4 separate regions of the Homo sapiens genome follow, and regions 2, 3 and 4 are each linked to region 1. The links are contacts of gene promoters, found by promoter capture Hi-C in human tissues and cell types (Jung and others, 2019). All regions are on one chromosome and are shown on one strand. The core of a region is centred on a gene start or on the middle of the fragment in contact, and the rest is flanking DNA. Distances in the headings are between cores, read along the strand shown.

The links. Contacts are between HindIII fragments. The study calls those that stand out against the background at their distance.
Region 2: a contact is called between a fragment that was not itself captured here and the fragment with the promoter of SLIT2 in region 1, in 1 of the 25 tissues and cell types used here (dorsolateral prefrontal cortex).
Region 3: a contact is called between a fragment that was not itself captured here and the fragment with the promoter of SLIT2 in region 1, in 1 of the 25 tissues and cell types used here (hippocampus).
Region 4: a fragment that was not itself captured here is called in contact with the fragment with the promoter of SLIT2 in region 1 in 1 of the 25 tissues and cell types used here (mesenchymal stem cells).

The regions. Positions count from the first base shown.
Region 1 is chr4:20,250,598-20,253,485 of GRCh38, forward strand. SLIT2 (slit guidance ligand 2) reads left to right here and starts at 1,308. Exons shown (of 37, transcript NM_004787.4): 1 at 1,308-2,888. RefSeq lists an enhancer at 2,424-2,888. The HindIII fragment of the contact is 10,378 bases long and covers 1-2,888 here.
Region 2 is chr4:20,408,198-20,411,028 of GRCh38, forward strand. The region is part of intron 4 of SLIT2 (slit guidance ligand 2); the gene reads left to right. Among named protein-coding and RNA genes, the nearest start is that of SLIT2-IT1, 17 kb to the left of the region's middle. The HindIII fragment of the contact is 3,848 bases long and covers 1-2,831 here.
Region 3 is chr4:20,425,543-20,428,346 of GRCh38, forward strand. The region is part of intron 4 of SLIT2 (slit guidance ligand 2); the gene reads left to right. Among named protein-coding and RNA genes, the nearest start is that of SLIT2-IT1, 35 kb to the left of the region's middle. The HindIII fragment of the contact is 7,302 bases long and covers 1-2,804 here.
Region 4 is chr4:20,010,051-20,012,750 of GRCh38, forward strand. LOC105374513 (a long non-coding RNA gene) reads left to right here. Exons shown (of 3, transcript XR_925449.2): 2 at 1,730-1,845. Among named protein-coding and RNA genes, the nearest start is that of SLIT2, 240 kb to the right of the region's middle. The HindIII fragment of the contact is 3,709 bases long and covers 1-2,700 here.

The DNA of each region.
Region 1 (2,888 bases), core at 58-2,557:
TGAAAGGACATCTTAGAAAATGTTAACCAGGAAAAACGTTAATGAGGATATTGCAGAGATTTTAGGTTGAGCATACTCTTGAGTTAAAGAAATCGGTTACTTATGAGGAAACCTATTATGTGGCAGGCATAGATGCTGGAAATACAAAGAGTTGGACAGGTCTTGCTTTCAAGGAAGCTTCTAATAATTATACAAATAACTACTACAATATGAGGCTGGTATTAGGCGGGGGCTTGCACAAATTCCAGGGAAAGCTTCTTAACGTGGAAATGGGAGGAAGAACAACAATATGATGCATATTAAATCCAAGAGAAGGAGCAGAGTCATTTAGATGTCATTTCAAACTTACAGTGACATTGGCTCTTGCTGGGGGGGAAAGGGGGGCGAGAGAGGCAGCCGTTGCCAGACATACGTCACACTAAAGAGACAAGATGAAACAAGGAAATTCTCTTTCAAAACATAGCGGGGAAAAAAATATCCAGAACTGCCCTGAAATAAAGAAAACCTTCTGGTATAATGTGCGTTGCTAGGGATTTATTTTTTCCCCTCCTTTCTCTCATAAGAGAGTAAAAAATCACACAGATACGTTCAAGCCCTTAAGAGTTTTGTGAGCCTATTGAATATCCAAGACATCAACTGACCACGGTGTGGTTCAGTGTGTGTCTACAAAGGAAGGGTTAAACGGAAGGGGGTGGCTTGGAGATAGAAAGGCAAGCAAGAAGGTTGGAAAATGCTGTTTTCCAACTTGCAAAAACTGAACTTTTCAGCTCCCCAAAATACACGTGTGTGTCTGTAAGCGCAGGCAGATCTATTTCGGTAGGATTTTTCTTAAATTTAAATCATAATTTCTCTGTTTCTGTCTCTCTGTCTCTTGCTGCGCTGCAAAGAGTGAGCAGCCCCCTTAAGGATCGCGTGGCAAAAGCTGCAGGAGAGGCACTGGCAGGGCTGTTTATTTATGAGCCGCGTTCAAAGCCGACCTCTTCCCATTCTCCCACTGCAAACGACTATCTCCGAGCCCAGGTCACCTCTGGGGCCAAGGAGTTGGGGGCTGGGGCTCGGGTGGCTCCTTCTTCGGGCCAAGTTTGCCCGCGCGTGGGAGCGAGGGGGCGAGCCAGGGCGCACGGGAACGCGCGCCGCCAGCCGCCGCCTCCGCCCAGCGCTGGCAGCCCCGGCCTCACCTCTCCCCTCTCCCCAGCGAGGTGCGGGCTCCCAGAGCGGAGCCAGGGGGCGGGCCTGGGCCTCGAGGGGCGGGGTCAGGGGGCGGAGGCTCGGGCGGCTATATAAGGCCCGCGCCGGCTCAACTTCGGACTTGGTGTTATTTATTTGGGAAGCGCCCGGACGGCGGAGCTTGGCGGCGGCGGTGGTGGTGGCTGCCGCAGACTGTGGTTAAAAAAAAGAAGGCGGCGGCGGCGGCGGCGGCGGAGGCGGAGGCAGCTGCGAGGCATGGGAGCGCCGAAGCGCCCAGGCGCAGGCCGAAGCTGCCGCGCTTTCTGGGCACGGCGGGAGTGCTGAGCAGAAAGGGGAGCGCCGGGGGCCCGCAGCCGGCTCCGGAGGCGCGGGCCGGGTTTTTGTTTGGCTACGCTGAGCGCCAGTCAGCCCCAGCGAACAACTCCAGTTACGACAACAACCCACCTTCCTTCCAGACAAGCGAGACTTGGGCTGCTGCGTCCGTCCTATTGTTTAGACACTTGCCAGGGGCTCCGGAGTCGGCAGAGCCACCGAGTCCCCGCTCTGAGTCGTCGCCCTCCCTCTCCCCGACCTCGCTCCCTGGAGCGGGAGGCCAGGAAAGCAGCGGGAGAGGGGAAGGGGCTAGAAGGAGAAGGACTACCCGGGACTGCGGCCGCCGCGTCAGGTGCAGCGCCAGGAGCCGGGCGGCGTCGCCACGCCGGCAGGGGTACCGCCACTGTGGCCTTGGGGGACGGAATTCAAAGCCTGGGAAAAGTTGCTGCACTTTGAGAAGGACGAACCACTAGTGGGAGACCGCCGGGGGCCGGCCGTGGCTCTGCGCCCTCCGGAACCCGGCTCTTGTTTCTTCTACCTTTGCCATCAGGTGTCTGCCGCGGAGCTGCGGCTTATCTGGGAGACGAGCGGGGTTGACACGCGCGCACACACTACTGCCATTCAGCTGCCGCCTGGCTCTGCCTGGAGTAGTGGATCCCACCCGCCCACCTGCCACCGAGCCATTCTCCAGTACGCCCCAGCAGGACGCTGACACCTCCAACCTTGGCCTTTGCCTTTCCACTCCTTCCGGTCTGCCTGGTTTTTAAGTCCGCCCCCAGTCAGTCCCCACTCAGTCTTCGCAGCAGCTCTCATCCTCCACTTGGCCTCTTGGAGTTCCTCGCCGGAGTGCTGACTAGTGGATATTTCTGCCCGGCTGCGGCGGCCCGACTGCCCTTTTGTCTTTTCTGCGTGACCTCGGGGCAGGTCCTGGTGCAGAGCGTCGCCAAGGACGCCGAGCGGGAGGCGGGATTGCCCAGACATCCTTCAGCGAAGTGCATGTGTGTTTGTAAACCATCGTTGGCTGTCGGGAGACCGCGAGGACCGGTCCAGGCTGCGGCGGAGTCGAGGGCGAGGGAGAGGCCGCGTGAGTGAGCAGAGTCCAGAGCCGTGCGCCCCCAGAACTGCGCGTCCGCCCCGTGCACCCCCGCGCGCCATGCCCAGTTGCCCCGCGCGCTCTGCTACGGGCCCGCTGGGCTTCCGCGCCTTCTAGCTTCCGGAGCCCACTTTGATCGGGGCCATAATACCTATTGAGATCCCCTCTTCTGTCTTGTACCTTCGCCACTGGCATCGGATTTGCAGAAGCGTGCGTGGGATCAGAGGACCGCCCTCCCCACAACAACCGGCCCCTGCATCTTAGCAGCCGTTGGAAGCCCCAGCTCTTTTACCGC
Region 2 (2,831 bases), core at 318-2,817, 160 kb after region 1:
GGGCTTGTAATATCCAGACCATCAGACATCTAGCTCCAAGGACTCATAACCAGATGATAGGAGAAAGAAGCTGAGATTATAATACTGCGATAAAAACATTTATATAAAAATGTAGTTATTCCACCAGAAGAATGTAAACCACAGCCCCTAAGCCCTTGCCAAACCCCTTCTCAGACCTTGACCTTCCATTAATTTGTCTGTTTGAACCCTAGGATTTTGCACATTTTGATTTTTTGTTCTAGGTGAAAGCTTGAGAGTTCCTTGCCTCTACTATGCCCAGATCTCAGCCCAAAGCCATCCCTGATCCCCTTTCCCCTGCAGGACGAAATTTCAGTTTGCTGACTCTGCTGTGCTCAAAGAACCTTCGTTTTTTGTGATTATGTGCTTATTTTTAGTTTATTTTTTTACCTCCTTCTAGCGCTACTGGATTATAAGTTACTTTGGGATCAAGGCCATTTCTATCTCACTCATTGTGGAAACCCAGCTTCTATCGCTCTAATAGTCCTTGAGTAAATGATGAGTGAGCTGCAGTCTGAGAAGCCTAGGGGACAGAATGACTCAGCTGCTTGGAGGAACCAAGAAAAGCTTGGAACAGAACAGAGTTTGCATCGCTGTGGCTCATGGTGTTGCTCTATAATTACTTAAGTGACAGTTTTCTTATACAGACACTTTGTCCTAGACAATATGTAAATGGAAAGAAAGAATACCATCTACTTCTAAATTAACAGCTCCTGGGGCTGCTTCTCCCACCCCCACCTCCCATATGCACTTGTGCTCATATGCATTTGCATGTAATTTCTGTAGTACCACAGATCTGCTAAAGCCCATCAGAGACTGCAGCTCACGAAAGCTGCCATGTTTTTCCTTTTAATTTCCAACTTTTGTTTTAAGTTTGGGGTACCATGTGCAGGATGTGCAGGTTGGTTACATAAATGCCATGGTGGTTTGCTGCAGAGATCATCCCATCATCTAGATATTAAGCCCAGTATCCATTAGCTAGTCTTCCTGATGCTCTCCTTCCTCTCACTTCTCGCCCTACAACAGGCCCCTGTGTGTGTTGTTCCCCACCATGTGTCCATGTGTTCTCCTCATTCAGCTCCCACTTATAAATGAGAACATGCACTATTTAGTTTTCTGTTCCTGTGTTAGTTTGCTGAGGATAATGGCTTCTGGCTCCATCCATGTCCCTAAAAGGACATGATCTCATTCCCTTTTATGACTGCATAGTATTCCATGGTGTATATGTACCACATTTTCTTTATCCAGTTTATCATTGATGGGCATTTAGGTCGATTCCATGTCTTTGTTAGTGTGAATAGGGCTTCAGTGAATATACATGTGCATGTATCTTTATAATAGAATGATTTATATTCCTTTGACTATATACCCAGTCATGGGATTTCTGGGTCAAATGGTATTTCTGCCTCTAGGTTTTTGAGGAATTACCACACTGTGTTCCACAATGGTTGAACTAATTTACATTCCCATCAACAATGTAAAACCATTCCTTTTTCTCCACAACCTCGCCAGCACCTGTGTTTTTTAACTTTTTAATAATAGCTATTCTTACTGGTGTGAGATGATATCTCATTGTGGTTCTAATTTGCATTTCTCTAATGATCAGTGACGTTGGATTTTTTTTCATATGTTTGCTGGCCGCATGTATGTCTTCTTTTGAGAAGTGTCTATTCATGTCCTTTGACCACTTTTTAATGGGGTTGTTTTACTCTTGTAAGTTTTTTTAAGTTATTTGTAGATGCTGGGTATTAGACCTTTGTCAGATAAATGGATTGCAAAAGATTTCTCCCATTGAGTAGGTTGTCTGTTCACTCTGTTGATAGTTTATTTTGCTGTGCAGAAGCTCTTTAGTTGAATTAGATCCCATTTGTCAAGTTTTGCTTTTGTTGCAATTGCTTTTGGCATCTTCGTCATGAAATCTTTGCCTGTGCCTATGTCCCAAATGGTATTGCCTAGATTTTCTATTAGGGTTTTTATAGTTTTGCGTTTCACATTTAAGTCTTGGTTTTTTTTCTTTTCTTTCTTTTCTTTTTTTTTTTTTTTTTTTTTTTGAGACAGAGTCTTGCTCTGTCACCCAGGCTGGAGTGCAGTGGCGCAATCTTGGTTCACTGCAACCTCCGCCTCCCAGGTTCAAGCGATTCTACTGCCTCAGCCTCCCAAGTAGCTGGGATTACAGGTGCCTGCCACCATGCCCAGCTAATTTTTTTTTTTTGTATTGTTAGTAGAGATGGGGTTTCACCATGTTGGCCAGGCTGGTCTCGAACTCCTGACTAGGTGATCCGCCCACCTCGGCCTCTCAAAGTGCTGGGATTACAGGTGTGAGCCACTGCACCTGGCTCACATTTAAGTCTTTAATCCATCTTGAGTTTATTTTTGTATGTGGTGTAAGGAAGGGGTCCAGTTTCAATTTTCTACATGTGGCTAGCCTGCTCTCCCAGTACCATTTATTAAATAGGGAATTCTTTCCCCACTGCTTGTTTTTCTCAGGTTTGTTAAAGATCAGATGGTTGTAGGTGTGCAGTCTTATTTCTGGGTTCTGTATTCTGTTCCCTTGGTCTTGGAGTCTGTTCTTATACCAGTATCATGCTGTTTTGGTTACTATAGCCTTGTATAATTTGAAGCTGGGTAGTGTGATGCCTCCAGCTTTATTCATTTTGCTTAGGATTGTTGTGACTATAGGGCTCTTTTTTTGGTTCCATATGAATTTTAAAGTATTTTTTTCTAATTCTGTAAAGAATGTCAATGGTAGTTTAATAGGAATAGCATTAAATTTATAAATTGCTTTTGGCAGTATGGCCATTTTCATGATATTG
Region 3 (2,804 bases), core at 32-2,531, 170 kb after region 1:
GATCCCGTTTAAAGAAATGTCATATTGATTAGATACAATTTTAACTTGCTGGAAATTACTTTCTAAAAATATTATTTTCCAAATCTTCCTGTCCATAAATCCGTTTGTAAAGGGAAAAGCCACTCTTAATACATAGAAATTCCTTTTAGTGAGTTCAACTTTAAGCCCCTAGGAAATGCTTTAGTCTTTCAAATATCCAAAAAGTTAACAGATTTTATATGAACACTTTACATGAGAAAGTGGTACTTTTGCTGAAAACTTAAAGTAGTAAATGGAGAAAACTCAAGTGTAGCATTATTTCCAGCTGCTGCAGATTCCATGCTTTTTCATATGTCCCTTTCTCTGCCTGCCTCTCCCTCCTATGCCAATCCTTTGTATGACCATGAGTTTTTCAAGACTCTTCTGTGCTATCCCTGACAATTCAGTTTGGGATTTGCTGTCACCTTAGGAGCTTCTCTGTAAACCTGTGATTTTTTTCCTATTAGACTAATGTGTGAATGAGTGTTTTGCTCAGTGCTCCCTTATAGACTGTGAGCTTCTTGAGAACAGGGTTGCTCCTTCTTCACCATTGCATCCTCAGTGTGTAGTGTGGTACCTAACACATGGCAGCTGACTTTGGCTTAACCAACACATGCTTGAATGAAGCAGCTCCAAACCTGGAATGCGGAGGCAGTAGGGAAGGAAAGGATATCACCAGGACTGCTGGCAGATGAGCACAGAGTTGAGTACAACTTTCACTGTGTAGGAGGCAGCATAGAAGGGGAAGATTTATAAATGATGTATACAAAAACAAATTCAAAGCTAGTAAAAGAATGAGTGGAGAGGCTGGGGAATCAGATTCTTTAGAAAATAGGGAGTTTTGTATAAGAAAAGGTGGTAGGGGAAAAACAGTTTTGCAAAATAGTCATATTTCACTAGATTTAGCAGTGTGTTATCCAATCACAGATGACCTGAAAAGATGCACTGTGTAAGATGCTATTAATGAGAAAGGATCTAGAGGTTGACAGGTACGGCCATTTGCATGCTGATGATAACTAAAATTGTAAGGAACACATATTTAGAGTAGCTTTAGGTTTTGGAAATTGATTGAAGAGGGACAGAAAAAGAAGGAGAACCTTAAACCGTAACTTAAGAAATGAGAGCTGGGATCTACAGAGCAGGAAATGATACTTGGCTGAAAAGCTACAGATGCATAATAAAAAGATTACCTGTTATTTGATAATGATGATAAAAAAATACAATGATAAGTAGTGCATATGGGCTGGGCTTATATTCTTTCATTTAAACCCCAAAACAACTGTCTGGGGAAGATTTCATTGTTTTTCCCAGAGAAATAACAGTTACAGAGAGGCAGGTAAATTGCCCAGGGTCTCAGAACTGGTAAATTTAAGAGTTAGGAGTAGAGTCCAGGTAGAGGCACTCCAGGATCTGAATCTTACCTGCCCTCTATAGTCTAAGCTTTAACCAAACACTATGTAACATTTATGGTATAGCTGTCCTGAGCTTAAGAAGTATGTTTATCTCATTTGATCCTTAGAAAATCTGCAAGATAAGCAGACTTCAATCCTCAATTGAAAGGCAAAGACAGGCTTAAAGAAAACAGAGATTTTCCCTGAGAATCCACAGCCTGTAAATGGTTGTGATCCGGCCTGAACCAATAGCTTTTAGTTTTAATAACATCACAGGTTCTGTGAAACCATGCTACTTCCTTAGATGGTGCTCCTTCAGGAAAAGGATATCAATGTTGGTATTTTTATATAAAACATTAAGAGTATGTGTTTCTGTTAATGTACATATACATGTCCTGTAGCCTGTTAGAACCCATTTTTTTCATTTTCAAAGGTCATAGGAAAAATTATATTCTTACACAATAAGTCTGTACATCCACAGAATCAAAGATATTTGGTCAAAAGTTTGTCATTATGGATTCTAAAAGTTGAAAGCATATGGCTGCATTTTAAAAACCTATCTATATGATGTGCTTATGAGTATGGTATTTTGTGTCCAAAGTTAATTAATAACGGCTGCAGGCCAGTGTTCTTGTAGGAGCTCTCATTTTTTCCAACATTGCTGGTGTCTTTGAACAAGTGAAGTGAAGCCATCCAGGGAAAGCTATGAATTTGCATTCTTTTTTTTTTTTTTTTTGAAACCTTTCTAACAATGGCTGATAATCACTACTGTCAATAGTCTTCTAAAAACTTCCCAGTAATGATTAGATACTATGAATAGATTATTGCTTTTTCTCTTCAGGTCTTTTTCCCCCAACTACATATAGAATGTTATTGAAATTCATGTGTCTTAATCAGTTGTTCTCTATGCTTTTTACCATGCCTCTCTTCATTTCTAAGTCTTCTGACCTAAATTACAAACCTGAAGGACTGAGAAGAGAAGAAAACCCATTTTGAGTTCCTACCCTGTGATCCATACTGTGCTAATTACTTCTCACTCATCTCATCCACACTACCACAATGCAAAGTCAGCACGTTCATAATTGTTCACAGCAAAGAGAAAACTGAGGACTAAGTCTCACAGGGAGTAAAAGAAGTAGATTTAAACCCATGTTTGACTCTTAATGTCATGTGTTTGATCTCCGTACTTACAGCTCTTGGATTCAAATTTTAGTATGTGTTTTTAAAGTCCATATTGTAAATGTAACCATGATCAGAAGTAATTACTATTTTGCAGAGCACACACACATGTACACAGAATATCAAACATAAATATACAGAGTAAAAGAAATGCCCGCATGCCTGCCACTCAGGGCGAGATGGAGCCCTGCCATCATGCCACATGAGTCCCCTGGT
Region 4 (2,700 bases), core at 89-2,588, 240 kb before region 1:
TTTATTGTTTTTCAACCATTTCAAACTTTCAAAACAATTTTTGGCTCATAGGGTAGACAAAATGACAGCAGACCATGGTATTCCAATTCCTAATCTAGGGGGTCAAATGATAAACAAGATGAGTCTCTGCTTCAAAACACTCCTGATCTACAATAACAAATGTTTCTTTACTTGGTAAATCCTTTCAAAAAGATATGTAAAGGTAGCACCAAGGGATTTGGTTTACAGAGAAGGCTGCACTGAGAAGGGACTAAATTATCCCAGTAGATGACCAGAAGTCCACCAGGGAGTCCATGTCAGGGGTGGTAGAGAGGCACATATTTTATACACCAAACTATCAATTATATATCATTTGATATTGATACAAATGTATATATGTATGTGTATATATTTTTATTTCTTTCAAAGAAGCAACATCCCAAAATTAGATAGATTAGAAAGCCTTCTTTCAACCACCTTTCTCCACATTTTTGATTGGTTGGTTGTTGTTGGTACTAGTTCTGTCTTGAATCCAGGGTTTGCATATATAACGATACGTTTTTTGGTGTTTTTTTTTTGTTTTGTTTTGTTTTTTGCGGAGAGTCTCGCTCTGTTGCCAGGCTTGAGTGCAGTGGAACGATCTTGGCTCACTGCAACCTCTGCCTCCCAGGTTCAAGCCATCATCCTGCCTCAGTTTCCCAAGTAGCTAGGACTATAGGTGCGCACCACCATGCCCAGTTAAATTTTGTATTTTTAGTAGAAATGGAGTTTCACCATGTTGGCCAGGATGGTCTCGATCTCTTGATTTCGTGATCTGCCCACCTTGGCCTCCCGAAGTGCTGGAATTACAGGAATGAGCCACCATGCATAGTCTTGAGACAAGTAGTTTTTCTGTGCTGGAGGAATGACAGCAAAAACAATCATAAATGCAGCAAGCTTATTTACGAACAAATTGATTTGAGGGAGTTGAAATCAGCAAATATTGGGATGGATTTATGTGAAGGACAAAATTCCTTGAGCTGTTCTTTCCAAATGTACCCAAAGAAGCTCTTTGTAATTTTTAAAGAATAAGCTGCATACATTGTGATGAAGTGAACTTAAGGAAATAAAATGCATTCAGTTTGGGGAAAACGGGTTTTTTTCCCCTTTATTTCCTTGAGTTTTATCTTCCCTATCAAGTTGCTGCCATCCTCAGAGCAGTGGTTTCTGTAACATGTACTGATATAGACAACCCAATATCAGAACTATATTTGCCGTGTAACTTTAATCCTCAACTTTGGCCACAACTATTCACAGTGATTAATACCAACTGAGCTATACAGTTGTCAGTTGTTCTCAAGAGAAGCATCAGTGTCTCTTGTGTGCATCTGTGGAAACCACTGAAATGGATAAAATTGAGGGTTAAGCTACCCTGTACTCTAACCATTTCCTTGTAAGCATCCAGTCTAAGAGTTATTCATCTGACCTCTTCACTAAATAGTACCCTTACACTGTTACCCCAGGAAATGAAATGTACTGTAACAGATCAGGGAACGACTCATGCTGATTAGTGAAACTTTCCAAACAACTAAAAATGTGCATCTTTAAGTGTAGATAGATGATAAACAGATACATACACACATGTGTGTATGTATAGTTATAGATGTACATACATATATATGCATAAGCATATATATGTGTGTATACATATTTCTTGTATGCCATGTATTCTCCTATCATCAATTTCATCTCCTTCTCTTTTGTATTTTAGTTGGTAATTGGTGTTTCTCCGTTACTATACCATCCCACAATGTGTTTGAGGGAAGCAATTATGGCTTGCTCATATCTGGAGACACTACAACACTTTATGCAATGCTTAAGCATGCAGTAAGTATTTGTTGCATTTCAACTCAACTACTAAAAAACTTAATAGTATTACTAAAAACACAATGATTGGTAAAGGGATATTTTAGAAACAATTATGGTATATGGGTCTTGTTTTAGAGAAATTATTCACCAAATATTACAGATAAATGCTCCAAAAATAATTGTATTTATTTTTGCTATTGTCATGCATCTAGTGAAAGATTGAGACTACTAAGTAGTGAAAACAGCCTAAAATATTTTAGTTTATCTCAGAAAATCACATGTAGCAATTATCAGATATTACCCACTCTGGTTTCTCAAGCCTCTGCTCTAGGGGAGGGAGTGTTTCCTTAAATTACTTTAAGAATAATGAATAAATAAACGAATGAAATTTGAAGAGACAAGACAACTCCTCTGTGGAGTGGCACTCACAAGAAAGAAAATCTAATAAAGGTACCTTCAAACTTCAATGTGCATCAAAATCGCCTGTGGGACTTGTTGAAACACAGATTACGAGGCTCCATACTCAGAGTTTTCTGCTTCCATAGGTCTGGGTAGATGCCCAGAAATGTGCATTTTTACTAAGTTCCAAGGTGATGCTGAAGTTGCTGATATGGAACCCTACTTTGAAAAACATAGATCTAATGTCATATTTCATGTATCCATCCTTACTATTTCTCTCACTGATTTAGGTAACTACGTTCTTTTATACATGATAAAATCGACAGTTGGAAATCCAGTTACAACTTCTCTTATCTCATTTGGATAGTGTTTCCATGGAGGATTTCCTTCTTCATATTTACTGGGAAATTTATGATTTTCTAAATCCTGAATCTCATGAAAAATCTTTCAACAAATCTGAGAAAAGTGTTATAA